4 separate regions of the Homo sapiens genome follow, and regions 2, 3 and 4 are each linked to region 1. The links are contacts of gene promoters, found by promoter capture Hi-C in human tissues and cell types (Jung and others, 2019). All regions are on one chromosome and are shown on one strand. Each heading gives the region's core, a stretch centred on a gene start or on the middle of the fragment in contact. The rest is flanking DNA. Distances are from core to core; before and after follow the strand shown.

Region 1 (7,904 bases), core at 2,782-5,281:
CAAGACAAAAAGCATCCCTCCAAACCATGAGGGCGATCCACTCCAAGCCTATCTTCAGTAATGGACAGTTCACAATTTCCCTTGGTCATCATTAGGTTGCCTCATTTTTCTTCCAGTAGAAAAGTGGCTGTTTAGTATTAATCTGAGCCACATTTAGTGCCACCTAACATTATTATTATCCATTTGGTGTCAAGTGAGAGGTGCTTTACTCAATTTTTAAGAACTTGTTTAACACCTCCCCTGAGACTGTCTTAACAATCATAATCATGTTCACCTTATTTCTCTACTTTTTTTTTAATATACCAATTATATTTTTAGCCTTTAAAGCTCTCTACAGTCAACTTGTCCATGCTCAGAGATAGCAATGATCCAAAGCGGTAGAGACCAGTGACCAGGCCAGTTCTTGTCTTGGCTGTGGCTCCCCCTATTTTAGTTTGGGCAAATCTCTTTTCTTCCATGGCTGTCTGTTCCCCACATGCAAATGAGGGATGTGGAATAGTAAGACACTTTCCTACAGACAACACACCACGACCTTCAGTCACTAACAAACAGCTCTTACTCACTACAGGGTCCACGTTCAGCAACGTTCACGCCTGTTTCCGTATCCAAAGATACAGGAACAGGGAAGGGCTTTTTCACCTCTGCCTGACTCATCTTGCAAGGTACTAGGCTGAACGTGTGTGGTAGGTGAGGTTTTAAAGGTAAGCCCTTTGGCCTGAAAAGAGTATTCACTGAACCTACAAACTGGTGAAAATGTAAGAAAGAGAAACTTGGAGATAATCAAAATAACTCCAAGAATGTTTTGTTTAGTAAGTTCTTTAACCATATAAATAGCTCTTAAAGTGAAGATTAACCAAGTAAAAGGGGATCAAAGAGCTAAGTGATTTTACACTGAAAAGGCCACTCTCATTTACGCTTTGTTCCTCCACACACATTTACTGAACACCTACAACAGGCAAAAAGTGTTTATTTGAAAGCTGGACACTCAGTCCTAAATTCAAGTCTGGCTCCTCTGTGGACAAACACTATTCCAAAGTTCAGGCTACAGGATGCAGGGCGGCGCCTGGCTTCCTTCCATGTGAATCACTCAAGGAGGAAACAGCAGGAAAGCTGAAGAGCAGTGGTTCTCAAAGTGTGGTCCCTGGACCAGCATCATCATCATCCAGGAACTCTTTAGAAATGTAACTTCTCAGGCTGCCCCAGACTTAGAATCAGGAGTTCTAAGAACAGAGCTGAGTAATCTTTTCATAAGGAGACCTCCAAGTAACTCTGAATACACTGAAGTCTGAGGGCCTCTGCTGCTGATTCCCAATGAATATTGAGAATGGTGGACTAAGTGGGTAATAGGCTTTGTTTTAATTCAAACTTAATTCAAGTAATGTTCATTCACGTCAGTCACACTGAAAGCGCAGAATGTTAGAATGAGTAAAACAAAATCAAATTTTTCTCAAGTTTCACCTGGGAAAATAAACCTATCAAGAATTTTCCTAACCCTTTTGTCCCTTTTCTCCACAGACCTAGAACCCAATATTCCTCCCCTTGCCCACCAAAATAAATTTTTCACTCGATTTCCTCAATGAAGGTCAACATTTCAAAATAGTCACAGATGTTTCTCCTTGGTCCTAACTCTGTTTAGTCTCTGGGATTTGACAATTCCACCTAAAACAAACAAAAAAAAAACTTCCCATCTACTCTTCCTCTCCATCCCAATCCCATCGAAATCACCTTAGGCCACTATCATCTCTCAGGGACACTGGTCTCTGGTCTAGCCTGCTTCCTCCAACCTCTGTCTCCAGAGCAATTGAACACTCAAACCTGAGTGAGTCATTCTCCTGGTGAAAATTCATCTCTGGCTCCAGTCTACAGGATCAAATCCAAGGTCCTGACCCTCTCTCCTCCCTCACACCACATCTTGACAGTACTAAACCACTATCTGTATCCTAAATGGTCTGTGCTTTCTCTTTTCTTTGGGCATCTGGGAAAATTTGTTCCCTAGGTCTGTCAACTCCAGCCGCATCGTGTCTCCCTGCAGATCTTCACAAGCATCTAGCGCAGGGTCCATGAGGAAGGGGACGTCCCCTTTCTGGGAGTACAGAAGTGGGTCACTGGAGCATTAGAAGAACATCAACATCATCTTTCTAACCCAATCCTTTTGAAGTGATTTACAACACACAAAACAAATAGACTATTTGTAAATGAACATCCATTAGGAGGTCATGCTCATTTTTGTCTTTTTTTTACTGATAGAGCTAGAAAGCCACAAACGCAGGAGGCCAGTGTACCTATCAATATAACAACCCATGGAACCAACCCTCCCAAGAACGCACAATACAGCTGGAATCGTGGCTACCTGTATTTACCATTACTGTGACCAAGTGAGGCAATCTTAGACCACGAGACCAAATTCAGCCCCACGAGGTCCTATTTGTCTTTACCAGGGGCTCAGCACATAGTGTTTAATTTCCCAGGGATGAAACCATCTCTCCAAGATCAGACAGCCTTGCAGACAGACATGATGTGATCTTGAGAATTTAAAGGATATTCTCAATGAAGTTTTGTTTCCATCTACTTTTTTTAAAAGCAGGTATTAAAAATAACTGAACCAGCCAAGTGTGCCCACCAAAAGCAGGAATCAAGAAGCTGAAATATGCTTCAGCTCCCTTGTACCCTGTAATTATTTAGCCTTGTTTACAGCAACTTTTTCCAGAAGCAGAATCGACCTTATGAACAGCTTATCCCAAATACTACTCAAGGGCTAACAGATGACCACATCTTAAATATCAAGAGCTTCTAGGTGTAGAATGTCTTCGTAAAGCAAGCCCTTATAGGATTTTCTTTTAAAATTTTCTCTGGGAGTCACATTTCTTTGGGAGAAGTCTGCCTTAAGTGACAACCTATTCATATAAGCAGTCAATTCTGACACAACTACCAATTTTGGTGTCACCCATCAACATTGAGACCTTTCTAAATCTTATACATTTCAGGATGCCAGATTACAGTATAAACTTCAAACAAGAGGAAAACCCAACACGTAAACCTGCGGAAGAGAAGCAACACACCAGCTGCCCTGGAAAACACTCTCCTCCCCCCGCGACACATGCATTTCCATCCTTCGCATCTGGTCACCTCCGCTGGCTGTCGGCCCTGCTCCGCTCCCTCCAACTATGCCTGCGAAGTGCTTCATTTCTTCTCTATTCGACCCGTAGGTGTTGCGTGTTCTTCTAAACTACGTTCAACAGTAAAGTGCAGGACATTCCAACAGCTCCACAAAGAAGCAAAATATTATCTCTGCAAAGTCATGCATTTAAAAACCAGTTGCTTTCCCTATTTTATTGATCAGTCTTTGAACTTCTGAACAGATTTTCGATCACCGCAAGCTGAGCCCTTCTAGAAGATCAGGATTCTAAAGCTCGACTCGGTCCACCTTCTGCTATTCTGGGAACACCCTTCATCCCCAGGGGCCAATGCGAGCCTGGCGGGTCACAGCGCCCGTTTCACCGAGAGGGGGCCGGGCTCCGCAGGGGGCATTCCCCGGCCGTTCGCGCGCTCCCGGCCCGCCGCGAGGGGCGCCCCGGGCAGCGCGGGGGTCGACGGGCGGCGCCGCAGCGCTGGGCCGCGGCCAGGAATGAGCTCAGCGTCCCCGCCGGGTGTTGCCGGCAGGTTGCATCAGACGCCGCGCGGCGCCGCCGCCCGCGCCTCCAGCCTCGCGTGGCCTTCCCGGGCCAGCGGGCCGTCTGGGGCCGGGGCTGGGTTTCCCCGAGCCGGGCCCGCACCCAGTCGAGCGGCCGGCGTCGCCGCGGCCTCCTCCTCCCCGTTCTCAGGGCGCCCGCCGCAGCCTCCTTACCTGCTCCTCTAGCCCGCCTGCCCCCAGGCGGCCTCCACTCCGAGCGGCCCCGCGCGGTGCGGCCCGAGCCGACCCAGGCCTCACAGCCCGCGAGTCAGCGAGGAGGAGCGACGGTTACGAAACCGGCAGCCTCCGCCCGTTCCGCAGCCGCGGCCACCGGCTTCCCCTGCTCGCCGGGGCCGCGCGCGCCGCCGCCGCCATCCCGGCCAATGGGAGCGCCGGCCTGCCGGAGGCACCGCCTTCTCTCGCGACGGGCAGCCCAGTCGACCAATCGTGGGCAGGCTGGCGGCGGGAGGCGGGCCCACGGTGGGGGAGTGGGTTCCGCGCGGCTGGCTCGGCGGGTGTGGCGGGAGCAGGGAGCTGCTTGCTGCGGCGTCCGCGGTCCCTAGGCAGCTCGCCCGGGCTGGCGGCGGCCTAGTGCTGTGGACGACTCAAGTTCGAGTCGGAGGCTGAAAAGCCGTCACCTTGTGGAGGCCAGACGTGCCTTTGGAAGCATTTTCTGAGGTGGTTTTGTGAACCACCGGCGACTGTTTTGGTTTCGCCGCGTCCCTTGGAAGCCCCCGCGGCGTCCCTCACAGAGTTTCTGCGAACGGAACGCCCCGCAGGCGGGCGGGCTTTGTCGCCGCAAAAAGAGTGGAGGCTGACGCGGTGGCTCCCGCCTATAATCTCAGCGCCGAGGGAGGCCGAGGCGGGAGAATGGCTTGAGCCCAGGCGTTGGAGAACCAGCCTGGACAACATAGCGAGACCCCATCTCAGTTACTAATTTTTAAAAAATCGAATGAACCCAGATGTTTCACACATAGGATTAGCATTGATGTCACATGGGTGAAATCCATGTGCTGCAGGCTGTGCTTTGTTGTTAGGGTGAGATGAAGTGAATTTCTTAAAATGATTCTCTTTGGGTGCCTTCCAGGTGCATGGGTGCGAGGTGATCTCTGAAAATAAGCAGCGATCCAGTGTGACTTAAAACTCGCCAGGAGAACCCGAAAGCGTTTTTTTTTTTTTTTTTTTTGAGACGGAGTCTCGCTCTGTCGCCCAGGCTGGAGTGCAGTGGCGCAATCTCGGCTCACTGCAAGCTCCGCCTCCCGGGTTCACGCCATTCTCCTGCCTCAGCCTCCCAAGTAGCTGGGACTACAGGCGCCCGCCACTACGCCCGGCTAATTTTTTGTATTTTTTTAGTAGAGACGGGGTTTCACCGTTTTAGCCGGGATGGTCTCGATCTTCTGACCTCGTGATCCGCCCGCCTCGGCCTCCCAAAGTGCTGGGATTACAGGCGTGAGCCACCGCGCCTGGCCCCGAAAGCGTTTTAACACCAGGAAGCAGCAGCTCGCTGGGCGGAGGGCAGAACTCGCCTGATAGGTTTAATTGCTTCCTCTTTAGCAACGCGTATCGTTCAAACAATTGAGGCTTTGAAAGAGGAAATGTTTCTTCAGCGCCCATGGAACCGGCTCGCCCCGTAAGATTGTTTCGAGGAATCAGTAAGATGATAAAGCAATAAATAAAAATTAAAAGGGGTCACAACGGTGAACAATGGGCTGGGCGCGGTGGCTCAGGTCTGTAATCCCAGCACTCTGCGAGGCCGAGGCAGGCTGATCACTTCAGGTCGGGAATTAGAGACCAGCCTGGGCAACATGGAAAAACCCCATCTCTACCAAAAATACAGAAGATTAGCCGGGTGTGGTGGCGCTGTGCCTGTGGTCCCAGCTACTCTGGAGTCTGAGATGGGAGGATGGCTTGAGCCTGAGAGGCGGAGGTTGCAGTGAGCTGAGATTGAGCCACTGCACTCCAGCCTGAGCCACAGAATGAGATCCCTGTCTCCAAAAAAAAAAAAACAGGTAATAATGCTCACAGATGCACACTTAGGAGAATAAGTGTCATTGAAACAAGTGTGTTTCTTCACGTTGGCTCTCAGTATTCTCAGCTTAAATTTCTTTTCTTCTTTTTTTTTGAGACGATCTTGCTGTGTTGCCCCAGCTGGAGTGCAATGGCACTGCCACAGCTTGATCACAGCTCACTGCAGCCTCGACTTCCTGGGCTCAAGCCATCCTCCCACCTCAGCCTCCCAAGTAGGTGGGATTACAGGCATGCACCACCACACCTAGCTAATTTTTTAAAAATGTTTTGTAGAGACAAGGTCTCACCATATTGTCCACTCTGGTCTCAAACTCCTGGGCTCAAGTGATCTTTCTGTCTCGGCCTCCCAGATTGCTGGGATTAAGGGTGTGAGTAACCAAGTCCTGCCTGAACTTGCTTTGATCAAGATTTTAGTACTATTAAAATAGGATTGTGATTTATTGCTCACAAAATCATAATTTTACCCTGAATATTTCCTAATCACTTAAAAAATGTGTAAGGGGGCCAGACACAGTGGCTCACGCCTGTAATCCCAGCACTTTGGGAGGCCGAGGCAGGCGGATCACCTGAGGTCAGGAGTTTGAGACCACCCTGGCCAACATGGTGGAACCCTGTCTCTACTAAAAATATAAAAATTAGCCAGGCGTGGTGGCGGGTGCCTGTAATCCCAGCCACTCGGGAGCCTGAGGCAGAAGAATTGCTTGAACTCGGGAGGCAAATGTTGGCAGTGAGCTGAGATCACGCCACTGCACTCCAGCCTGGGTGACAGCAAGACTCCATCTCAAAAATAAAAAAATAAAAATAAAAAAGGAAAGAAAAGAAAAAAGAAAAATGTGTAAGGGGAAAAAAAAGAACTTGCATAGGTATATTCAGTTATCCTTTGGTTTGCAAACCGCCCTGCCAAGCTGTTCCAGCATTCTTTGTATCTGTGTCTGGGCAGGCCTTCTTACACACCCAGCAAGTCTAGTCAGTGCCCAGGACACTCGGGTATTTATTTTCTTTTCAGCTGGTAGCTGGTAGTTTTTCTTCTACTCAGTTTACAAGTATGCATTTGGTGCCAACTATGTACTAAGCCGTAGGCTAAGTGTTGGAGATTCAGCAATGAGCAAGACAAACACACAGTCACTGCCCACATGGAACTTACACTTACAGCCAGGCAGACAGGCGTTTGGTAATTACACAATTTTTCTTTCTGTCACCTATGCTGGAGTGCAGTGGGGCAAGCATGGCTCACTGCAGCCTGGACCTCCTGGGCTCAGGTGATCCTCCCACCTCAGCCTCCCAAGCAACTGGGACTACAAGGCATGCGCCACCATGCTTGGCTAATTTTTGTATTTTTTGTAGCAATAGGGTTTCACCATGTTGCCCAGGCTGGTTTCGAACAGCTGAGGTCAAGTGATGCACCCACCTCGGCCTTTTAAAGTGCTAGGATTACAGGCATGAGCTACCTCCCCTGGTCCACAATTTTTCAATTACCATTTTCATAGATACTACAAGAAAGCAGTACAAGACGCTGTGAGAAATCAGAAGCGAACCAGACCTAGTCTGATGGGTCCGGGGAAGCCTGAAAAATTGACAGGATTTGGCTAGGCAATACAGAGGACGTGGGTGCAGCAGTCACAGGGAATTCTTGTCCGGGGCCCTGTGATGGGAGAAATTTAAGGCTAAAGTGGCTGAAAGTAAAGTGGAGACCAACAAGATAGGCAGGGCCATGTGGGCCCAAGAAACATTCAGATTTTTACCCTAAGAGATAGAAGCTTCCGAAAGATTTGTTCTCCATAAGGAAACGAGAGCCTGGTGAAGCCTTGGAGGTCTACTATGTAGCTTTTTTTACAAGTCACAGGGATCCAAGCCATCACAGTAAAAGAAAAATTTCCTGCATATCTCTCTGCCTTACAGTAATCAATATATATTCTACAAATCCAAAGACTGAGTAGCCTCTATAGCACTTTGGGAGGCCGAGGTGAGAGGATCACTTGAAGCCAGGAGTTCAAGACCAGCTTGGGCAACATAGTGAGACCCCTCATCTCTATTTAATTTAAAAAAATTTAAAATAAAAAAACCCTCCAAAGGACTTGGGAAGTAGGCTGTTGTATTCATTGAATATTGTAGTTACCTGACAGCCACTATGATTAACTACATTAGTTACCTAAGAGATATGAACACTAGTGTCCACAGCTTCACCGCTTGCTAGATGTGCAGCCTT
Region 2 (7,904 bases), core at 1,738-4,237, 950 kb before region 1:
GGCTGGAGTGTAGTGGCGCTATCTCAGCTCATTGCAACCTCCGCCTCCCGAGTTCAAGCGATTCTCCTGCCTCAGCCTCCCGAGTAGCTGGGATTACAGGCACCCACCACTGCGCCTGGTTGAGTTTTGTATTTTTAGTAGAGACAAGGTTTCATGATGTTGGTCAGGCTGGCCTCGAACTCCTGACCTCAGGTGATCCACCCACCTCGGCCTCCCGAAGTGCTGGGATTACTGGCTTGAGCCACCGAGCCCGGCCGAAATCTCCCTTTATTTTAGGAACCCTGGAAAAAAGACTTACCTACTTGTTATTTGTTATATATATATGTATATACACACATATATATGTGTGTATATACTCAGACATTTTTAACTTTCCTGCTTTAAAAAGACAGGTTACCTAGAATATTGGTACTTGGAGTTTCCAGAATAAAAAAAAAAAGGAAGAACATACATGGTTGGCATTCCTATTCAGTGAAGGAAAAGACCACATGAATACATAACAGGAAAAATATACATTGGCATATTAACAGAAAAACAGAGCTTTTGAAATCTGCACAGAAAAGTAAATATTTATTATTCAGTCACTACATATGTTTATGAAGAGTAGATAAGCAAGATAGAAAAGGAGAAACTAATCTCTGTCATTTTACGATTAAATGCAGAAAACAGATACATGGATCAGGACAAGAAGAGAATACAGAAAAATATATATTTGATTTATTAGATGGGATTCCAGATGAACTGTTTTTAGATTTCTATTTTTGTTGCAATTCTGTGAACCAAGTAACATTTTTTAGCAGTTAGCTTTTGTTCTGCTGGGCCAGTGTAGGAGTTGTAATATTTACAAAACTTGCAGACTACAGGAAAATGACTAGCAGCTATAATGCCGTAAAGTTCCAAAGCTTTGGTTTCACAAACTGTATGTAAACACCATTGCCTGAAGCCTAAGAGTCTCACAGTTTAAAACTGTTTGACTCTTTCTAAGAATCTTTCAGTCAAATATTTAGCTCACAAGGTGGTATGTTAGGTACGTGCTGAAGCACAAAGCTGCTCCTTACCTTCCTGGAGCTGAGAGCCTCAGGGCCAAAAAGGTGAACAAAGAAAACACAGAATTATAAATGGAGAAAAAACACTGCGGGAAACAAACAGAGGACTATACCAGGGAATGTCCTAGACACCCAGAAAGCAGCACTTAGGGTGAGAATTAGAGGAGAAGGTCGTGAATGGAATTGCATGTGTGTGGGGTGGGGTGGGGGGTGTCAAGACCTACAGACGGGTCCGTGAAACAGGCCGAGGATCCAAGGTAACAAAGAAAGACACATCCAAGGAACTAGAGCCCAGTGAGCGAGGGCAGGGTGGCCACTGATAAGGCTGGCCATCAAGGCAGGAGCCAGACTAGGCAGGTCTAGGCAGGTCGTGCTGAGGGGTCCACATGCTACCCTAAGGAAATGAGAAGCGACATCATCCAATTTTAAAATGAAGGCGAGCAAGACAGGGAGGGGAGAAGTAACGATTCCCTGAACAAGGGTAGCGATGAAGGACGTGGAAGAAGGGGACAGATCTGGGATAAGATTTTGGAGGTGGGAACTGCCGGGTTTTCTTAAGGATTGGACTGGGTGTAGACATGACGGAAATGCTGAAGGATAAATCTCAGGTTTCTCAAGTGAAGCCAGTGTGGGATGGCACCACTCACTAGCATAGAGAGGGTCTAGGGAGGAACAGGTGAGTGGAGAGAGGCTACGCCTGAGCCACCTGTGAGACCCCCGGTAGCAGCTGAGCTCAGGGGCCTGAAGCCCACAGGAAGTGGGCTGCTCACTGATCACACACATTTGAGCCCCCTCCAAGGACACAGGTGGTTTTTCAGTCCCAAGACTGGATGGAGAACCCCTAGGGAGAAGGGCAGCTAGAACTGAGCCTGGAGAAACTCACATTCAGAAATTGTGTTGAGGAAGGAGAAGCCAGTAAACTAGATGAAGAAAGGATGACCCAAGAGGAAAGAAAGGTTGGTTCTTGGATGTCACAAGCTGAGAGTATTTCCAAGGAGGAATATTCTCCACACTGCTGTGAGCTGCTGAAAGTTGTTGAAAGGGTTCCCTGGATTTGAAAACATGGAAGAAGGCACCAATGACCTTGATAAGAGAAGGCATGTTCTTGTATAGGAGTGGAAGCCAGATTTCAGCAAGCTGAATGACATTATGTATATAAAGTTTCAGACTGTGTAAAATAATACCTTATGTATAGATACATTCATATACGGAAAAAATATTAAAATATGCACAAGGATCACACGCTTCAAATTCAACAGAGGTTATCTCTAGAGACAAAGGGATGAATAAGAAAGTGGAGAGGTACAAAAGGGATTCAAGTGCATTTACAGACCGGGTGCAGGAGCCTAGGAGCTTGGGACCGGCCTGGGAACATAGCAAGACCCTGTCTTTAAAAAAATAAATAAAAAGTAAAATAAAATAAATAATTAGCCAAGCATGGTGGTGCATGCCTATAGTCTGAGCTACTCAGGAGGATTGCTTGAGCCGAGGAGGTCAAGATTGCAGTAAGCTGTGATCACTACCGCACTCCAGCCTGGGCAACAGAGCAAGACCCAGTCTCAAAAAAAAAAAAAAAAAAGTGCACTGGTGATATTTTTCTGTTAAAAATATGTAACAGGCATGAGCAAATATGGCAGGCAGCTAAAAGGAAGATACACTGATGGGTGTGAAATGTTCTATGTGCCTGAAATACTTCAATAATAATTACTTTTTAGACTACTCTGAGTAAACTGTCCACGGGGTGTGCCAGGAGCAGTAAGGAGCCACAAGGTGCAGTAAAAATAAAATAGTAATTTTTTAGAATGAATGAAAGGTGAAAAAAAGGTAGACAACTACTCCAAGAAGTTGGCTGAGAAAAGAGCAGAGAAACAGGGCAGGGCAGAGTGGACTTTTCTGTGGGAAGCATCTTTGTGTACTGGTGGGAACAGGCTGAGGATGAGGGAGAGAAAACACTAGGTCGCACCACAGAAGCTGGGCCCTCGAGGATGGGGGCAAGGCCAGCACGGGGCAAGCCTGGACAGGAGGAGAGGGCACCTCCTCTGCTGTCATGAGGCAGGGGAAGGAAGAAAAGATGGTTGTGAAGAGGGATGGCAGGAGTGGTGGTGGCTTGGCCACATGAGGAAGAAGGGCTGCCATCAGGGAGATTCTATTTGCTCAGTGTAGTAGGGGGTGGCATCACTGGCTGAAAGCAAAGGGAATGTAGAAAGGGCAGAAAGGCCTGGACAGACTAAAATGGTGGCAAAAAAGGTCAAGGTGAAGACGTCAAGAGAGAACTCGGAGGCCTCCTCCTGTGGGCTGGTCCTCAGCATGAGTTGTCTAGAAGATGGAGCAGGGGACCAAGGCAGGTGTTAGGTTCACGTGTGTGAGCTGAACAGTCAGGAGGCTGGGGCCCAGCAGCCAGGAGGACACCGAGGGTTGTAAAGTCACATGACAAGGCAACAAGGTGCAGGTCTGGACCTCAGGGCTTAGCCATCTACAATAAAGCTAACAGGTCCCACCCCCACACACAGCCTCCAATTAGCATTCCAGGGCCTTTCTGATGAACAGAAAGAAAGCCCTAGGAAGTCTTTAGCATGAAAGACAGACCAAAACATGCAAGAAAACAGTGAAAATTAAAAAGAAATGACAACAATGCAGCAAATGGCATGAAATTGAAATAATAAAACTAGAGACTGGACAATATTAACATGTGAAAAATCATGTTTTGAAAATTTTATTAAAGAAAATTTCCAAAACATAAAATGAAATACTAGGCCGGGCGCCGTGGCTCACGCCTGTAATCCCAGCACTTTGGGAGGCTGAGGCGGGCAGACCACGGGGTCAGGAGATCGAGACCATCCTGGCTAACACAGTGAAACCCTGTCTCTACTAAAAATACAAAAAATTAGCCAGGTGAGATGGCAGGCACCTGTAGTCCCAGCTACGCGGGAGGCTGAGGCAGGAGAATGGCGTGAACCCCGGGGGGCGGAGCCTGCAGTGAGCCAACATCGCACCACTGCACTCCAGCCTGGGCAACAGCGAGACTCCACCTCAAAAAAAAAAAAAAAAAAAAAAAAAAAGAAAAGAAATACTTTGCCAAGTTAATTATGGAATGATTTGAACTAGACATTATTTAATGAATCACTATATTGCTAACCATAAATTATCTTTTAATCTGTGTTTGCCTGCTGGGATAGTTTAAAAAAATTATCTTTTGGCCCAGGTGGGTGACTCACACCTGTAATCCCAGCACTTTGGGAGGCCGAGTCAGGTAGATCACCTGAGGTCAGGAGTTTGAGACCATCCTGGCCAACATGGCGAAACCCCATCTCTACTAAAAATACAAAAATTAGCTGGGCGTGGTGGCGGGTGCCTATAATCCCAGCTACTGAGGAGGCTGAGGCAGGAGAATTGCTTGAACCCGGGAGGCAGAGGGTACAGTGAGCCGAGATTGCGCCACTGCACTCCAGCCTGGGCGAAGGAGCAAGACTCCGTCTCAAAAAAAAGAAAATTATCTTTTACTCTGTAAAATGGAGCAGTAAGTCCTAAAGTCTCAACTTCTAAGATTTATTTTTTATTTCTCATACTGGAAAGAAATAAGTATTAAAATGCCTACAAGAAATGTCACTAATGGCCAGGCATGGTGGCTCACACCTGTAATCCCAGCATTTTGGAAGGACAAGGCAGGTGGATCACCTGAGGTCAGGAGTTCAAGACCAGTCAGGCCAACATGGTGAAACCTTATCTCTACTAAAAATACAAAAATTAGCCAGGCGTCGTGGTGCGCGCCTGTAATCCCAGCTACTCGGGAGGCTGAGGCAGGAGAATGGCTTGAATCTGGGAGGCAGAGGTTGCAGTAAGCCAAGATCACGCCATTATACTCCATCCTGGGCAACAAGAGCGAAACTCTGTCTCCCAAAAGAAATGTCACTGATTATAGGCAAAGTCTCCTTAAAACAGACTTTTTCAGAGCTGTTTTTGATTGCCTTTTATTTAAGCTTAAATTCTTCTGGCTGTGGAAAAGGAATAGAGAATGCCACACCAGAGTGACTAGGAAAGCAACCCTGCGCTAGGCTAGAATCCCCCCACCGGAGCGGCTCCCTGCAGCCCACCATTTAGTCATGAGGTTGTCACCACGAGAGGAGAATCCCACAATTCTCCTTCACATTATCCCTGATGACCATGCCATACCATCCCACACCACTGCGCTCTCTATCCACTAGGGAGCCAACCACTCAGTCTAGCTCTTGCATGATGGCTAGATTTTATAAACATATCTGCTGTGCTGGGAAATAGCTGATCTTCCAAGGGATAAAAGACTTCATGTTGGCCCAGTGCAGTGGCTCACGCCTGTAATCCCAGCACTTTCAGAGGCCAAGGTGGGTGGATCACAAGGTCAGGAGTTCAAGACCAGCCTGGCCAAGACGGTGAAACCCTGCCTCTACTAAAAATACAAAAATTAGCTGGGGCTAAAATACAAAAATTAGCCGGGCATGGTGGCGGGCGCCTGTAATCCCAGCTACTTGGGAGGCTGAGGCAGAGAATTGTTTGAACCCGGCAGGCGGAGGTTGCAGTGAGCCAAGATCGTGCCACTGCACTCCAGCCTGGGCGACAGAGTGAGACCCCGTCTCAAAAAAAAAAACTTCATGAAGTCACATAAAGCATACTGGAGAACTGCTGAAATCACATGTAAAGCACTGACAAATGAGGATCTAGGCAGAGTTAGACCAATTAAGAATCTTGTCCAAATCTGTAATCCCAGCACTTTGGGAGGCCAAGGCAGGCAGATCACGAGGTCAAGAGATTGAGACCACCCTGGCTAACACGATGAAACCCTGTCTCTACTAAAAATACAAAAAAAAAAAAAAAAAAAAAAAAAATTAGCCGGGCTTGGTGGCGGGCGCCTGTAGTCCCAGCTACTCGGGAGGCCGAGGCAGGAGAATGGCGTGAACCTGGGAGGCAGAGCTTGCAGTGAGCTGAGATCACGCCACTGCACTCCAGCTTGGGGGACAGAGCGAGACTCCGTCTCAAAAAAAAAAAAAAAAAAAAAAAAGAATCTTGTCTGGGTGCAGTGGCTAATGCCTGTAATCCCAGCACTTTGGGAGGCAGAGGTGGGTGGATCGCTTGAGCCCAGTAGCTCAAGACCAACCTGGACAACATAGTGAGACTTCATCTCTACCAAAAAAAAAAAAAAAAAAGTAATAATAATAATAATAAGCTAGACATGGTGGCATGAGCCTGTAGTCCCAGCTACTTGGAAGAGGCTGAGGTGGGAGTATCTCTTGAGCCCGGAGGTACAGGCTGTAGTGAGACTTGATCGCAGCACTGCACTTCAGCCTGGGCAACAGAGCAAGACCCTGTCTCAAAAAAAAAAAAGAAAAAGAAAAAGAAAAACTTAAAGAATTTAAAAAGTTACAAAGATTCCAAGCACTTCTATAGGGAATGATTTGACTAACAAAAAACACAAAATTCCCTGTGTCCACTGAGCTCTCGCCCTGCTGTGGTTGTATCTTTGGAGCCTGTCATCCCATCCGTCTGCCAAACACTCCTGCTCGCCTGCCTCGCTGCCTGGCTGGCCACTTACCCTCCCCAGACAGCTCCACCCCGTCTTTCCTGACTTGGGTGCCAGCCTCTTCTCACTGGTCCCCCATCTTAGAAGCTTTCCTGCAGCACTACCGTTCAGAGACAGGGCCCTCCCTTCCTCTGGCTCCCGCATATCTCCATCCTGGCCCCTTAGCCCTGTTTTTGTAAGCCTATTCTCCCAGGAGGCTGTGAGTAGAGGTTGTCATCCTAGTGCCTGGCACATGCCTGGCACAAAGTGGGCATTCACAAAGATGTTCACTGTTAAATGAATGAACAAGCCAATGATAACAGTTTAAAATGTACATTTCTAAATGAAATGGCTGTTTTGAGAATCAACAGGCAAAGGCCCTCTGGAGCCTCTCCTATTTGAACACAGGCACCAATCTCCCCAAAGCCAGGGTTACCTCAGCAGCCCCCCGCCAGGACCGCACAGCTTCCTCTACTTCAGGTGTGTGGCCCATGCCAGATAAGCCGCCGCCACTGCCGCTGTTCTTTTTTTCTGGCACGATGACCTCAGCAAAGCAAGAGTGAGCCACCGGCTGGACCTTCTGTAACGCATGAGTCAAAAACTGGAAATGGACTTGCACCACAGTCAGGAAACATCGCCCCAACACCTGTGAAAACAAGACAGCCAGGGATGTTTAGGTTGTGGGTTGCTGTTGGATTCGCGCAGTAAATTTTCAATGACCAACTTGAATAGAAGCAATAGTTAACTGGAAATCCAAAATCATACAAAGTTAAAAGGCCACCATGCTTCAGAAGGATCTGCCTTTGTTTTTGTGTTTGGACCTCGGTGACTGATGCCTGGAAGTCAAAACATTTCCATCAAATAACAAGGCCCAAGGTTGAAATAATTCTTCCCATTTCCCACCAAGTAACCCCCAATCCTGTCTCCACCCCCTATATCTGGACTCACACCACTTCTGGTGTCTTTGAGCTCCTGCTGAACCACAGCCATCCACAACAGCAATTACGTCCATACAGTATTCAGAAGGTAAAGGAAAAACCATGCAACTAAAAATCTGAAAGAAGGCCAGTTTGACCATAAGACATTCCGTTGAAAATGGAATCCAAATATACCGGTTATTTTAGTAGGAGTGTTAACATAGTTATTAACATAGTTGTATGTCATCATTCCAGTCTTAGGAAACAAAGCTGACAGACCAGTCTTCCAGGAGTCAAGAAAATATAATGGACAGCTCCACTCATGAGTACAGTAGAAACCCATTAACCTGATATATATCAGTGATTGGTTGCTAATAGTCCAAGTAGGAAATTAACTTAAAAAATACTATA
Region 3 (7,904 bases), core at 3,872-6,371, 930 kb before region 1:
GGCTGGTCTCAAACTCGTGACCTCAGGTGATCCACCCACCTCAGCCTCCCAAAGTGCTGGGATTACAGGCATGAGCCACCGCGCCCGGCCACAGCCTTTAAAAAGAAGGAAATTCTGATGCGAGCTACAACATGAATGAGCCTTAAAGACATTATGCTAAGTGAAACACACTTGTCACAAAAGGACAAATATTCTATGATTCCATTTATACGAGGTTCCTAGAGTAGTCAAATTTATAGAGGTAGAAAGAATGTTCGTTGCCAGGAGCTGGGAGGAGAGGGCAACCAGGAGTTATTGTTGAGCAGGTACAGAGTTTCAGTTTGGGAAGATAAGAAAGTTCTAGAGATGGATGATGGTGATGCTTGCACAACAATGTAAGTGTACTTAATACTACTGAACACTTAACAATGGTTAAAATGGCAAAATTTATGTTACATATATTTTACCACAGTAAAAATACACATAACTACTTCTAGTCACGTCTGCTACCCTTCTATTCCAAACTACTATCATCCCTCATTTAGACTGCTCTAATAGCCCCTTAACTAGTCTTCCTGCTTCCACTTAATTAGAATCAGGTTTATCTACATATAACAAAACAAAAACAAAAACAGAAACAGGCCAGGCATGGTGGCTCACACCTGTAATCCCAGCACTTTAGGAGGCCCAGACAGGAGGATCGCTTAAGCCCAGGAGTTTGAGACCAGCCTGGGCAACACAGTGAGACTCCATCTCTACAGTAAAAATAAAAATAATAATAATAATTTTTAATTAAAAAAAAATCAAACCCAAAACCAATACAGTGGCTTAAATAAGAACTATGTTGCCGGGTGTGGTGGCTCATGCCTGTAATCCCAGCACTTTGGGAGGCCAGGGCAGGGGGATCACCTGAGGTCAGGAGTTTGAGACCAGCCTGACCAACATGGTGAAACCCCATCTCTACTAAAAATGCAAAAATTAGCTGGGTGTGGTGGCACACGCCTGTAATCCCACCTACTTGGGAGGCTGAGGCAGGAGAGTCGCCTAAACCCAGGAGGCAGAGGTTGCAGTGAGCCGAGATCGCACCACTGTACTCCAGCCTGGACAACAAGAGCGAAACTACATCTCAGAGGGGGGAAAAGAAAAAAAAATTATGTTTATTTTTTTCTAAGGTAAAACAAATCCAGAGCAGATGGACCAGGGTTGGAATGGAGACGCCAGGGCATCACAAGGAGCCCACTTCCTAGCTTTCTGCTCGGCACACTCATGCGAGGCTCCTATTTCTAGGTGACTTCACGATTATAAATGGTTAAATGGCCATCAGTCATTCTGCACGCACTGGAGACGGTAGAAAATTGGAGGAGGAGGGAGCACCAATTTCCCCTTAAGGAGATATCCCACTAATCTCATGCAGTACTTCTAGTTACACCGTCATGAACCAGATCTTATTCAAGTGACCACTCCCAGCTTTAAGGAACTAAGAGGTGTAGTCCTTATTCCAGGTACAGTATGGAAAACAAAATGAGAGTTTGTTACTAAGAAAAAATGGCAGCTTGGGCAATGTAATGGAACCCCAACTCTACAAAAAAATACAGTTTAGCTGGGTGTGGTGGCATGCACCTGTAGACCCAGATAGTTGGGAAGCTGAGACAGGAGGATTGCTTGAGCCCAGGAGTTCAGGCTGCAGTGAACTGTGATTGTTCCACTGCACTCCACCCTGGGCAACAAAGTGAAACCCTGTCTTGCGGGGGGGCGGGGGCAGAAAGAAGGTAAAGAAAGAAAGAAGAAAGGAAAAAAGAAAAAAGAGATTGGATATTCAGAGGCAACTACCAGTATCTCCTCACTCTCCCCAGGGCCTACTGGGCTCTCTGCCCTGCCCCTGCTCAGATGCGCTCTCAGTTAGGTAGGAGGTTCTGGTATGAGGGCTGGCCCTGGCACAGTGAGCTGGGTGCGGGGAGAGGAGCAGTTGAAAGTTTTGCCGAATCAACAGACTTCAGGCTATTTTCCATCTGCATCACAGCACTCATCACACCTAGTGCCAGTCTATTTATTTATCTGGCCTACCAGTCCTGGAGTGCTTTTATTGTCCTTGTCATCTGTGCAATGCTTGCAGCTAGCTCATGTGTATTTATCGAGGAGGGTGGGTGGCTCAGCTGGGAGAAGAGGAAGGCAGGCCAGGTGGCTGGGCCTACTCAGGAGGGGCCCTAGTGCGAGCAAGGGTGCTCAGGGGTGCCTCTACATCACGCTATTTCTGATTTCCTGGCTCTGGACATTTCACCATTAGCAGAGGGGCAAGACAGCCTGTTCTCACAGGGGGATGGCCTCTGCCAACAAGCCCCTCTGCACTAGACTGCACTGGCCCGAGGCAGTGGGGAGGCAGCAGACACATAGGACACATAACCCATACATGGGCTGGCCTCAGAAGGACTTCAGGCAAATGCTGTTTTATGGGTGCTCAGGTTCCTGGTTTGTAAAGAGGAGGGAGGCTGCCAGAACAGGCCATTATCCAATCCTGTGAGATCTCCTAAGCTGACTAGAACCAAAAAATTAATTCAGGAAAGCCAGTTCTATCTGAAATTATATTCCATGAACTCTCCTATTTGTTTCCTTCTAATCTGCCCACCAAACCTAATTTTTCTAGCACATCACGCAAGCCTTTTCAGCAACTCAAAATTTTAAATCCTACTCTCTAAAAAGACAGCAACATTGCCATTCAATCACTAGTCCCCAAAATTAGCAACATTTCATTCTTTCCTTGACTCCCACCTGCTGCTGGCCTCCCACTTTCAGAGACGGTCTTTTCTCTGTTCCCATTTTCTCCTTTGATTCACTTTTACTCTCTTCATTTTTTTTGAAGAACACCTGCTTTTCTCTTCATCCCTACACCTTGGGTTTTCTAACTACTCAATAATGCTCCCCTTTCTGTTAGAAGACCACTTCACATGCGAAAAGCCCTCCATGAAATGGAGTTATTTATTGGGTACTCTGATATATTACGTCTTTAATACATTCCTGAATTTCTCTCTCACTTTTTGCAAACTTGGAAAAGGTCCAAACGTACACAAAAGCAGAACATAACAAGCCCCCATGTACCCATCAAAACACTTCAATCCTATGGCCAGGCACAGTGGTTCAAGCCTATAATCCCCGTGTTGTGGGAGGCTGAGGTGGGAGGATCACTTGAGCCCAGGAGTTTGAGACCTGGGCTCACAGCCTGGGCAACACAGCAAGATCCTGTCTCTACAAAAAAATTAAAAGTTTCAATTCCATTAACATTTTGCCATGCTTTTACCATCTATCCTTCCCCATCTTTTTTCTTTTTTTGAAGTAAATCCCAATCAACCAAGACTCAGTATGTGTTCAAGCTTCCCAACTTATCTTTTAAAAATTATGTTTTACATTTGGTTTGAACCTCAACCCCAAAAAGGTAATTTTATTTGGTTGTTATATTGCTTAACTCTTTTAATCTAGAACAGTACATTCTGTGTAATTTCTTTTAATGCTACTGACTTGTTGAACAAATCAGGTCAACTTATTACAGGATATGCCACATTGTGAATTTGTCTGGTTGCCTTCTCGTGGTATTGCATAACTTGCGTCACTACACCCCACATTTCCTGTAGACTGGATTCATTTTAGAAGCTTGATTAGATTATTTCAGGGTTTGTTTTTTTTTTTAAAGAGGGAGAAGTAGAATATTATTAATATTAGATGTGTTGTGCGGTTCTTGCTGCAGCACATCAGGAGACGTGATGACCTGTCTCCATTTCCATGACACTAAGGCTGATCAATGAGATTTGGGTGCGGAAGGCCTGATTCTCCCAAATGCGGTTCCTCAGCAACCTTCCAACAAATGGTTTCATCCTCCACTGTTGGCCACTGGTTGAGTCACCGAATTGATCACAGTCTGCAAAGTGGAGATTTTTCTCTCATCCATTAGGGCTATTTGGTTACCATGAAAAACAGTTTCTACTGGAAAAGCAGGAAATTTGCTTATTTCCTTACTTTTCTCCTTTTAATTAGCATTTATCAGAATAATGAGTTGGTTGCACATGCTTGTCTTGACAAATCAAAGTCAAAGGGTCCAGTCCCTCCACAGTGACAGATGCCCAATGGCCTTGGTGGCTTCCACCCACGTAGAATGGGCTAGACAGATGGTAAATCATGTTTGTTGACCACAATGCAAATTTACAGAATCACCCAAATTCCAGCTGCTTAATTAAGTACAGCTTCCTCTACAGGCTAAAGTCTGAAGACAATTTAGGTAATAGCAGATTCACCTCAGCAAAAAAGTAAGCCAAAAACACTGACCTGAAATTAGCAAGTTTCAAAACTGGATTCATACAAGCTTTTTATGAGGTGAACTTCAGTTTCTGATTAGCAGCAGCAATATGAACTTTCATCTGGCACATACCATTAGGAAATATTTACTCCATAATCTGTTACAGAAGATCTACCAGTCAAAACAAGTAACACTTACTTTTACCTTTAGGGCAAAAAAAAAAAAAAAAAAAAAAGGAACAGGATGCACATTCAATTCCATTAAGGTTAATGCAAATCGTATTTTTGAAACCAGCTTCTAATATTTTCCATTATTGTTACTCTACAATATTTCTGGTATATATCTATCCAAAATAAATGTTAATATACCTGAATTAAGGTCCTTAATTAAGAGTCAGTCAGCACTCACAGATAAATTATTTCAAACATATTCACAGGTAATCACATAGTATACAAAAGAAATTTGTTGTTGTGTCAAACTGAAAGCCAAGATGCAACTGTGTAAAGATTTGAGAGCCAGGCCCAGTGATACATACTTGTAGTCTCAGCTACGCAGTCTCAGATACGCGGGAAGCTGAGGCTGGAGGACTGCTTGAGCCCAAGAGTTCGAGGCTAGCCTGGGCAATATGGCAAGGCCTAATCTCTAAAAAAAAAAAAAAATATATATATATATTTTTTTTTTATAGTATATATATTTTATAGTATATATATACTATATATGTATATATAGTATATATAAGTATATATGTATATATAGTATATATATAAGTATATATGTATATATAAGTATATATGTATATATAAGTATATATGTATATATAAGTATGTATATATAAGTATATATGTATATATAAGTATATATATGTATGTGTGTGCGTATGTGTATATATATACATACATATATAAAAAATACATATTTTATATATATGTCTGGCATATATATATATAATACGTATATATACATATAAGTCTGGCTGCTTATTCACAAGATGGTAAATACTTGAAAAGTCAATAAAAATGCTGGAATTTATAAAATACAGTCTCCTTAGAGACATACAACTCCTGGGAGCCCCATGGCTGCCCTGGGTTCCTGGACTGCCTACATAGAGGACCAACACCTCTCAACACTGAGGACCCAACGTAAAACCAGAGCCCTGGAGCTACCCAGTATGAAGAAGGCAAGGGGAGAAGTGGCATCGCTGCTCACTACAAAAGAATGGCAGGGCCCAGCCTGCTGCCCTCCCATCCCCTGCCCTTCAGAGGTGTACCTCACCTTGCCTCCTACCTGGCTACTCAGAACAGACACCAGAGTGGCCCCTCTTTACCCTTCTGACCTCACCCCTGCTTCTCTCCCTTCCATTCACTCTGTTTTAGCCACAGCAGGTTCTTTCCTGCTCTTCCAACACTCCAGGCTGGCTCCTGCCTCTGGGACTCTGTGCTCGGCGCTCCCTCCGCCTGGAATCCTCTTTTCTGGGCCAACAGGCTTGCTCTCTCATCCCTTTCAGGCCTTTACTCGAATGTCACCTTCTCAGTGGTACCTTTTCTAACTACCTTCTCTAAGATCGAAACTCCCTTCTAGCTACATGAAGGGAGAGATTTCTGTCATGTTCACTACTGCAATCGACATGCTGGAGTAGTATCAGGCAGAAACAAGGCATACAATAAATATCTGTGGAATGAATGCACAAATCACAAGTCACTTTGATTCTTTTATTTATGTACACTTCCACTGAAAAAGTAATTTTATTTAAGTGATAGATGTCACCTTCCAAACCCAGGTCTTCTGACTCTGTGCCCAGTAACTGACTTCCTAGGCTGATGTACCAGTGTCACAGGCACTAGTCAGCTAGTGAAACCCCATAGTCACAACTCACTTCTCTAACAGAGAGACTGTGAGGGTGAACCACTCGGGCTAAGGGGCAAAGTCACTGGTGAGTATAGACTGGACAGGACTCACATATGCCCTGCTGGTTCCAAGGCAGGGTGGCAGAGCACACAGTCAGCAACCACCATTCCTGGACAAAGGCATCAGTATCTGTCAATCAATAACCACAGCCCAAACTTGGCTGTAAGTCAGAAGCACCTGGGAACACTGCACACATGCACTGGCCACATGGCAAGGGGACAGGATCATCCTTTGTCCTAACTCTTAAATGGTCAAATATTTGAATACTCTCGAATCCAGAGCTTTTCTCACCCACAGTCCTGGACTGAGCTCCTGAGTAGAGGCCTTGCCTGGCAATGTTAGGCCACAGACCTCTTTCCCCAGGGATGAATGTCAAAGTGACTCTCAGGGCCTTGCTTATAAAAATCCTTAAAAAACCAAAAGGAAAAAATCCAAATGCCTAGCCATTTCATCTGAGTTGCTGAAAATTCTGAGAGAGACCCTTATTGGCCTATGGCTAAATCCCCTGGCAGTACATAAATTCCAGAAACAACAAATATTGCTCTGGGGAAAAAGTGAAACGTGAAGTCTGCGGGCCTATGCTTGGCAATCACATTTAGAAATTCACTTGTAAGTCAGCTGTTTGAAACTCAGAATAGACGCATAAATTGGAAAACCCACCAAATACTTAGTTTCCAGACTCGTCTGGGAAAGCCTGTTCAGCCCATTATGTACAAAAAAACATGGTAGTATTCCAACTATCTAATCAGCATTTCAATGTGGAAAGCCAAGTCAAAATTCCAAACTACAACAATAAGTATTTCCCGTTCTCAGCTTCAGTGGTCAATGCCAGTCCCAGGAAAGCAGAAGAAACAAAGCAGGTACTGCTGTGCCCCAGCGGCTTACCAAGCCCCTACTGCTCACAGCTGGTTATCTTCTCTAATTGTCCTGCCCTGGGCAACAGGCGCACTTGCCCTCCAGGGTTGGAAAGCAAAGGGCCCTGCAGGTCAAGCTCTGTTTCCTCCAATACCTGCAAGCATGTCCTGAAGAAGAGCTCAGTAATGCTCAGGTTAAAATAAAAGCCTTTGGCCTTATATTTCAAACCACTCTTGCCTGAAGTCCTGAATAAAGCTAAGAGCGCTATGTCATCATGGGGTGACAGCTGTCAGAGTCTAAGATTGTTCAACACTTTCTAGGAGAGGACAAAGTGTTCCTAACTATTGTCTTGCCATATCTCTATCAAGCAGTGACCAGGCACAATGGTGGATGAACAACGTGGTTCTTTATGTAAAAGTCAAAGCTGCACACATCTGTACATATCCATGCATGTACAGACGGTAGTCTGGAATGGCATACAACAACCAGTTACTAATGGTCACTTCTGGGGAAAGGAATGAGGTGCTAAAGGAAAGTAGAAGTTTCACTGCTTACGTTTCTTTTGAGAAGTAAAGGCATGCTTTTTTATGTGTTGAATTTTTAAACAAAATTATGACAAGCCCGCCGGGCACGGTGGCTCACGCCTGTAATCCCAGCACTTTGGGAGGCCGAGACGGGCGGATCCCGAGGTCAGGAGATCAAGACCATCCTGGTTAACATGGTGAAACCCCGTTTCTACTAAAAATACAAAAAAATTAGCCGGGCGTGGTGGCGGGCGCCTGCAGTCCAAGCTACTCGGGAGGCTGAGGCAGGAGAACAGCGTGAACCTGGGAGGCAGAGCTTGCAGTGAGCCGAGATCACGCCACTGCACTCCAGCCTGGGC
Region 4 (7,904 bases), core at 2,162-4,661, 710 kb before region 1:
CTGCAGCCTCCACCTTCTGGGCTCAAGCAATCCTCCTGCCTCAGCTTCCCAAAGTGTTGGGATTACAGGCATGACCCACTGTGCCGGGCCAGATTTTTATTTTTTATTTTTTTTGAGACAGTCTCACGCTGTCTCTCAGGCTGGAGTGCAGTGGTGTGATCTCAGCTCACTGCAACCTCCACCTTCTGGGTCCAAGTGATTCTCCTGCCTCAGCTTCCCGTGTAGCTGGGATTACAGGCATGTGCCACCATGCCCAGCTAATTTTTGTATTTTTAGTAGAGACGGGGTTTCACCATGTTGGCCAGGCTGGTCTCGAACTCCTGACCTCAACTGATCCACCCACCTCGGCCTCCCAAAGTGCTGGGATTACAGGCGTGAGCCACTGCACCCGGCGTTTTTTAGTTTTTAAATTCTGTTCCATTGATCTGTCTGTTTTGTCTTGTGCCATTGCCACATTGCATTACAATTTCTACCTTTATGATTTTTTAATATCTGCCAGGTAAGATCGATATTGTCTCGTTTTGCAAGGAGCCATTCACCATACTTGTTGAGTGCTTGCTCTGCACCAGGCTTTGTCCTGGGCACTGAAAGTGCGATGTTGACCTACATGGTCTTTCTCTCTCATAGGTCTTGGAGACACAGGCAGACACACAGGGTGGTAATTACAACCTGCCTGATCAGCAGTGCAGCAGGGAGGGCCGGAGCATGGTGGGACACATCTATCCATGTTCCTGCCTTTGTGCCCAGGCACGCTGCTCCTGTTACTGTAGATGGACTTTCTGGCTCTTGTCTGAGGCCCGCCCCTGACCAGGCGCCAGATCCTTTCCCCTCTTGCCTTCTCAAGGACCCACTGAAGCAATTCCCTCTTTTCTTTCCTGCACCATCAACGGATATTTCCTTCTCTACTGGAATATTCCCATTAGCTTATGTGGATCATGAGTGAATTCCTTTCATTGCACCATGTTCTCCAATTACCATCCATTTCTCTGCTTTGTTTATGGCCCAAATCCTTGAGTTATCCATCTTCACTGTCTCCAGTTCTCCTCCCATTCCAGTGGGGCGTCACCTCCACCACTCCTCCAATACCTCTCATATCAAGGTCACCAGTGACCTCCCTGCACCTGTTCAGTTCACTTGCTCATGGTACTTGACACCCCAACAGCATCGGACACAGCTCGTCACTCCCTTCTGGAGAACATTTCTCCACTTGGCTTTACACATGCCACTCTCTTGGGTTTCCTTCGACTTTACTGGTCACTGCTCAGAGTCCTTTGCTGTTTTCTCTTTATTCTCCCCAACTATATTTTACTTACTTATTTTTTTGAGATGGAGTCTCGCTCTGTTGCCCAGGCTGGAGGGCAGTGGCATGATATGGGCTCACTGTGACCTCCGCCTCCCGGGTTCAAGTGATCCTCCTGCCTCAACCTCCCAAGTAGCTGGGATTACAGGCACGTGTCACCATGCTCAGCTAACTTTTTTGTATTTTTTAGCAGAGGCTGGGTTTCACCATGTTGGCCAGGCTGGTCTCGAACTCCTGACCTCAAGTGCTCTGCCCACCCTGACCTCCCAAAGTGTTGGGATTACAGGTGTGAGCCACTGTGACCGGCCATATTTCTCCCAATTCTAAATGCTGGAGTGCCCCAGGGCTTAGATCTTAGGTCTTTTCTCTGTCTGCACTTACTCCTAGCCTCAAGACTTTAACTATCATTTCTAATGATGGAAATATCTTCTCAAATCATGGAAACTTCAACTTTATATCCCCTGTTCAGACTTCTCCCCTGAGCTCCAGACTTGTCTATCACTTGTCTCCTTACATCCCACTTGGATGTCCCACGGTTATCTTATCTCAAACTCAGTATGTCCCACACTGTACTCCTGAGGCAACCACATTGCTCTTTCCATACCTCTTTATATCTCTGTACATGGCAACTGCATTCTTTAAGCTGCTCAGGTCAAAAACTTCAAAGCAGCCGGGTGTGGCAGCTCACATCTGCAACTCCAGCACTTTGGGAGGCCAAGGTCAGAGGATCGCTTGAGCCCAGGAGTTCGATATCAGCCTGGGCAGCACAGTGAAGCTCTGTCTCCACAAAAAATACAAAAAATAAAAATTAGCCAGGCGTGGTGGCACATGCCTGTAGTCTCAGCTACCTGGGAGGTTAAGGTGGGAGGACTGCTTGAGCCAGGGAGGTCGAGGCTGCAGTGAACCGTGATTATGCCATTGCACTACAGCCTAGAAGAAAGAGCAAGACTGTCTCAAAAAACAAACAAGCAAACAAAAAATTCAAAGCTATTCGCGACTCTTCTCTTTACCACACAGCTCACATAGACTTCATTAACAGACTCTGGACTCTCCCACTCAAATCCAGAACCTGACCAAGGTTCACAACTTCTGTCTTGCCATCCTTTTCAAGCTGCCATGATTCCTCACTTGGATTTTCATAGTGGCCTCCTGATGGCTCTCTCTGCCTCTGTCCTCACTCCCCTTAGTTGTCTAAGAGTAATGCTTTTAGAACGTAAATCACATTATGTCACATTTCTGCTCAAAACCCAATGGTGCCTCTTTTGCCAATGGTGCCTCTTTGTTGTAAGGACCCAGTCCAAGTCCTTACAACAGCCTACAAGACTGCGCTTGATTCTGCATCCCCCAATCTACTTCTCTAACTTTCTCTGCCACCATTTCTACCCTAGCCTTATTGGACTCCAGACACATTGGCCTACTTGCTCTTCTCTGAAGGCCAAGCACTTGACCCTTTCAGGACATATCCTCATGGCTCATCTTGTCACCTCCTTTTGGATTTTGTGCAAATGACAGTGAAACTTTTTTTGATCATCTATTGATAATTTTAACATCATCCCATCCACTTTCCATCTTTAATTAATTACTTAATTAGTTTATTTATTTATTTGTAGAGACAGGATTTCGCCATATTGCCCAGGCTGGTCTCCAGCTCCTGAGCTCAAGCAATCTACCTGCCTTGGCCTCTCAAAGTGCTGGGATTACAGGAGTGAGCAGCCTGCCTGGCCTTTATTTATTTTTTATCTAACTCATTACCAGCTTCTAACTCAATACCAGCTAACATACTCTATTTTTTATTTTTTTAAAACCTATTTGTTTATTTCCCACTAGCCTGCAAATTTCTAAGGGCAGAGATTTCATCTGTTAAATTCCAGGTTGTTTATACAGCTCCTAGAGCCATGCCTGATGTATAACACATGCCCAGTAAATATTTGTTGAATGAGTGATGTCCTTGAATATTGAAATTGATATGTCTGAAGTTTCTACAATTTCTTAAATGAGTTTATTTCTAAGGAAATAATCCCCTTTATCTTAAGTCATTGAATTTTTTACTCTGACAATTTTTGGGTTTGCCTTTCTAGAGGAGTTATGTGGGTGTCTGTTTCAAAGATTTTAGGTCAAGGTGAGAGAAAAAGAGACTAGTTTGAATTTGTTGGAGGTTTATTTTTTCAGACAGTTACGGTTGCCCTTGTAAAGCGGAAAGAGAGCTCACCCAGAAGTGGCCAAGGACAGGAAACTTCCCTGTGATGCGGAAGGGTTCCCCTTACCCTTTTGTTATTATTATGGAAGTGGTAGTGGCAGGAGTGGCCACAGTGAGGTAGATAATAATTGCAAGCATTTACAGAATGCTTCACTGAGTGCCAAGCCCTGTGAGTGGGCTTGACTGCACTTTCTTATTTATTTATTTATTTATTTATTTATTTATTTATTTATTTTTTGTGACAGAGTCTTGCTCTGTCACCCAGGCTGGAGTGCAGTGGCGCGATCTCAGCTCACTGCAAGCTCCACCTCTCGGGTTCATGCCATTCTCCTGCCTCAGCCTCCCGAGTAGCTGGGACTACAGGCACCCGCCACCACGCCCGGCTAATTTTTTGTATTTTTAGTAGAGACGGGGTTTCACCGTGTTAACCAGGATGGTCTTGATCTCCTGACCTCATGATCTGCCTGCCTTGGCCTCCCAAAGTGCTGGGATTACAGGTGTGAGCCACCACGCCCGGCCAGCACTTTCTCATTTAAACCTTATAAACCAGGTACTATTATCATTATCATTCTAACTTCATAAATGGTAGACCTAAAGCTTTTTTTCTTTTTCTGGGCAGGGTCTCACTATGTTGCCAGGCTGGTCCAAACTCCTGGGCTTAAGCAATCTGCCTGCCTTGACCTCCCAAAGTGCTGGGATTACAGACATGAGCCACTGCACCCAGCCTGACCTGAAGCTTAAATAAAGGTAATGCACAGCCAGCCCCCCACAATGATCCCCACCTCCTGGTATTCACATACTCATGTAGTCCCCTCCCATCTTGTACCAGGGTTAACCTGTGGGACCAATTACATACAGCAGAAGTGAGGCTGTCCTTCTTATGAGATTAGGCATAAAAGACTGGCTTCCTTCTTGAGCACTGTCTTGTCTTGCGTGCTCTCTCTCTCTCTCCCTCAGATCACTTGTCCTATGGAATGTCAGCTGCCATATTGAGAGCATACTCAAGCAGCCCATGGAGTGACCCATGGGATAAGAAACAGAGACCTCTGCCTAACAGCCAGTGAGGCATTGAGACCTGCTGTATTAGTCTGTTCTCATGCTGCTAATAAAGACATACGCAAGACTGGGTAATTTATGAAGGAAAGAAGTTTAATTGACTCACAGTTTCACATGGCTGGGGAGGCCTCACAATCATGGCAGAGGGCAAAGGGGAAGCAAGGCATGTCTTACATGGCGGCAGGCAAGAGAGAGCTTGTGCAGGGGAACTCCTGTTTATAAAACCATCAGATCTCATGTGACTTATTCACCACCATGAGAACAGCAAGGGAAAGACCCACCTCTATGATTCAATTACCTCCCACTGTGTCCCTCCCACAACACGTGGGGATTATGGGAGCTACAATTCAAGATGAGATTTGGGTGGGGACACAGCCAAACCCTATCACCTGCTAACTACCCATGCATGAACTTGGAAGTGGATTCTTTAACCCCATTTGAGCCTTCAGATGGTTGGTGGTAGCCCTGGCTGGCACCTTGACTACAACCTTCTGAGAGACTCTGAGCCCAAGCCACCCAGCTAAGCTGCCCCAGGATTCCTGATCCTTAGACATTGCAGGAGATGTTAAATGACAATTATTTAAGCTACTAGGTTTTGGCATAGTGTGTTATGCATCAGCAGATAACCAATATAGGTAACTTGCTCAAGATCATGCTGTTGATAAGTGGTAGAACTAACATTTGAACATGGGCTTGTCTGACTTCGGACCACTGGGCTCCATTGCCATGGTGACATCCACAGTATAGACTCTGCTCACCCCTGGCCTGTTGGGAACTGCCACTGAGTTGTGGGGCTTGCCATGACCTGCAGGACTGAGACTGGGGCTGAGAACCGACCCCGTGACTTCTAGGACATGTTTCATTCATTCTCAATGTGGGAAAATTTAACCTATTTTATATTCCCTGAGTTATCTCCATAAACATTTGTGGTGAGTTATCACCATAAACATTTGTGGAAAGCACATTTAAGATGTGGGTTGTGACTTCCAACTGGAACCAGATATCTAGACTTCGTTTATGGACCATGGGTCAGCAAACAGTAAACAATTTTGGCTTCGCGGGTGAAATATGTTTTTAAAAAAATGCTGCCTTGACACAGTTTTGAGACCTTGGCTAGAGGCTGGTCACATCCCCTTCTTAGGCAGCTGGTTAAGTCATACTTCTTGGCTGGGCACCGTGGCTCACGCCTGTAATCCTGGCACTTTGGGAGACTGAGGCAGGCAGATTGCTTGAGCCTAGGAGGTCAACACCAGCCCGGGCAACATAGCGAAACCCTGTCTCTACAAAAAATACAAGGAAATTAGCTGGGTGTGATGGTGCATGCCTGTAGTCCCAACTACTTGGGAGGCTGAGGTGGGAGGACCACCTGACTCTGGAAGGTTGAGGTTACAGGGAGCCAAGATTGTGTCACTGCGTTCCAGCCTCGGTGATAGAGGGAGATCCTGTCACACATAAACAAACAAACAAAGTCTACACCCCAAACTGCCTCACCTCTCATGCTTTAGGCCACTATGCACCTGCCCTAATTGCCCAGAGCCAGATATCTGATATCTGATAGGGATAGCTCCTAAGCCCCAGAGCTTGCTGAAATCATGAAAATTGGCCAATCCTAAACCTGCTTGTCCTGCCTAACCCTTTCCTTCCCTGCTGCCGTCTCTGGTGCTTGCTTCCTTGGGGTGGCCCTGCAGGGCGTTGCTGTGTTCTCACCCCAGGGAACTGTCAGCAACAAAATGGTAAGAGTCAATCCTTTCAAAAGTTTCTCCTGAGGTCTGCATAAAGCCTCCTGTCCCTCACCATCCCTCACCACTCACTGTGGGGAGAACAGTGGGCCATATGGCTTCGGTCACAGCTACTCAACTCTGTCATTGTAGGACCCAAACAGCCATAAACAATATAGGAATGTGTTCTGAAGGAAACCAGAATATTTCACCCCAAAAATAGACTTCTTTGGCATATTTTGAGATAATTATTCAGAGAAACTGCAGACAAGAATAGCCCTGAAAAGCTGTCTTTGGTGGAGGAGATTTGCATCTGTAGAGAAAATCTACATTAGTGAAATAAGCAGCCAGGCTTTCTCTGAGCACCCTCTTCTCCAGATCTAGGAAAGATGAGCTCACAGGAAAAAGAGACTAAGAGCCTAACACGTTTAAAGGTTTGTCAGAGAAACTTTGCCACAGTCCACTTCTATTCTTTCTGAGAGCTGCTACCTGTGATGCTTCATTTGCATGACAAGACCACTTTGACAAATTTTCCTTCTTTCCTTTTCCCATAACCTGTGTGCTACCTCTTCTGGAAGCCCCAAGCCCCTTATTCTTTCTGTAGCCTCAGGATAGCATAAAAATTCCACTCAACTGTGGCTCACTCCTGTAATCCCAGCACTTTGGGAGGTCAAGGCAGGTGGATCACTTGAGCTCAGGAGTTCAAGACCAGCCTTGGCAACATGGCAAAACTCCATCTCTGCAACAACAACAAAAATTATCCAGGCGTGGTGGCACATGCCTGTAGTCCCAGCTACTCTGGAGGCTGAGGTGGGAGGAGGATTGCTGGAGTCCAGGAGAGCGAGGCTGCAGTGAGCCTAGATGGCACCACTACACTCCAGCCTGGGCAATAGAGTGAGATCCTGTCTAAAAATAAAAATAATAATAATAATAATCACTCACTGGGCTCTTTGAGTTTTCATATTTTCTGTGACATCCCTGCATAAGTGTGCATGTAAAAAATTTGTTATACTTTTCTATTGTTAACCTGCCTTTTGTTACAGGGGATTACCCCCTTTCTGCCCCTACACTTTCAATAATATTTTATTTACAAAAATAGGTGGTAGAACAGATTTGACACCCAGGCTATAGTTTACTCATATTTGCTTTAGAATCTTCTGATAGATTTAGATTTTCTGATTAGTGGGTAATATTAAAGAAAGCTTAATCCATATATTAGTTAATAAGTACATCTTTTCAAGCTGTCACTTAGTTGACACTGAAGGAGCCTTGCAAAAGCGTTAAGGGCGCTTTGTCATACTCTGTGAACTGTTTCAGCCCTGGAGCCTGTCTGTGTGGCCTTCCATAGTGTTATACTTCATATGATTTTAGAGTGACAGTAATGGGAATGGAACTGCCAGATGGAAGGCTGACTGCATGTCAGAGGCTAGGCCAGATGCATTCTATTCATCCTCACTACTCATTTTCCTAAGGACAAGTGTATCTCCTCATTTTATAGATGGTGAAACTGAGGCTTAAAGAAGCCCAAGATAACACATCTCGTAAGTGGTGGAGGCTACAGTCAATCCTGGTAATTTAACATAAAAGATCATGTTCCTATCCACGTTATGAAATCACATTTCTGTGATGCCCG

The links. Contacts are between HindIII fragments. The study calls those that stand out against the background at their distance.
Region 2: a contact is called between a fragment that was not itself captured here and the fragment with the promoter of CEBPG in region 1, in 1 of the 25 tissues and cell types used here (lymphoblastoid cells).
Region 3: a fragment that was not itself captured here is called in contact with the fragment with the promoter of CEBPG in region 1 in 1 of the 25 tissues and cell types used here (hippocampus).
Region 4: a contact is called between a fragment that was not itself captured here and the fragment with the promoter of CEBPG in region 1, in 2 of the 25 tissues and cell types used here (H1 embryonic stem cells and mesenchymal stem cells).

The regions. Positions count from the first base shown.
Region 1 is chr19:33,369,836-33,377,739 of GRCh38, reverse strand. It overlaps CEBPG (CCAAT enhancer binding protein gamma), which reads right to left and starts at 4,031. Exons shown (of 2, transcript NM_001806.4): 1 at 3,845-4,031. RefSeq lists a silencer at 3,435-4,244. The HindIII fragment of the contact is 10,998 bases long and covers 1-7,904 here.
Region 2 is chr19:34,319,225-34,327,128 of GRCh38, reverse strand. It overlaps GARRE1 (granule associated Rac and RHOG effector 1), which reads right to left. Exons shown (of 14, transcript NM_014686.5): 3 at 7,013-7,222. Among named protein-coding and RNA genes, the nearest start is that of GPI, 42 kb to the left of the region's middle. RefSeq lists an enhancer at 7,051-7,345. The HindIII fragment of the contact is 5,735 bases long and covers 120-5,854 here.
Region 3 is chr19:34,304,831-34,312,734 of GRCh38, reverse strand. All of the region lies in intron 2 of GARRE1 (granule associated Rac and RHOG effector 1), which reads right to left. Among named protein-coding and RNA genes, the nearest start is that of GARRE1, 54 kb to the right of the region's middle. RefSeq lists an enhancer at 1,746-2,245. The HindIII fragment of the contact is 3,275 bases long and covers 3,484-6,758 here.
Region 4 is chr19:34,083,809-34,091,712 of GRCh38, reverse strand. No RefSeq gene overlaps it. Among named protein-coding and RNA genes, the nearest start is that of LSM14A, 85 kb to the left of the region's middle. The HindIII fragment of the contact is 4,884 bases long and covers 970-5,853 here.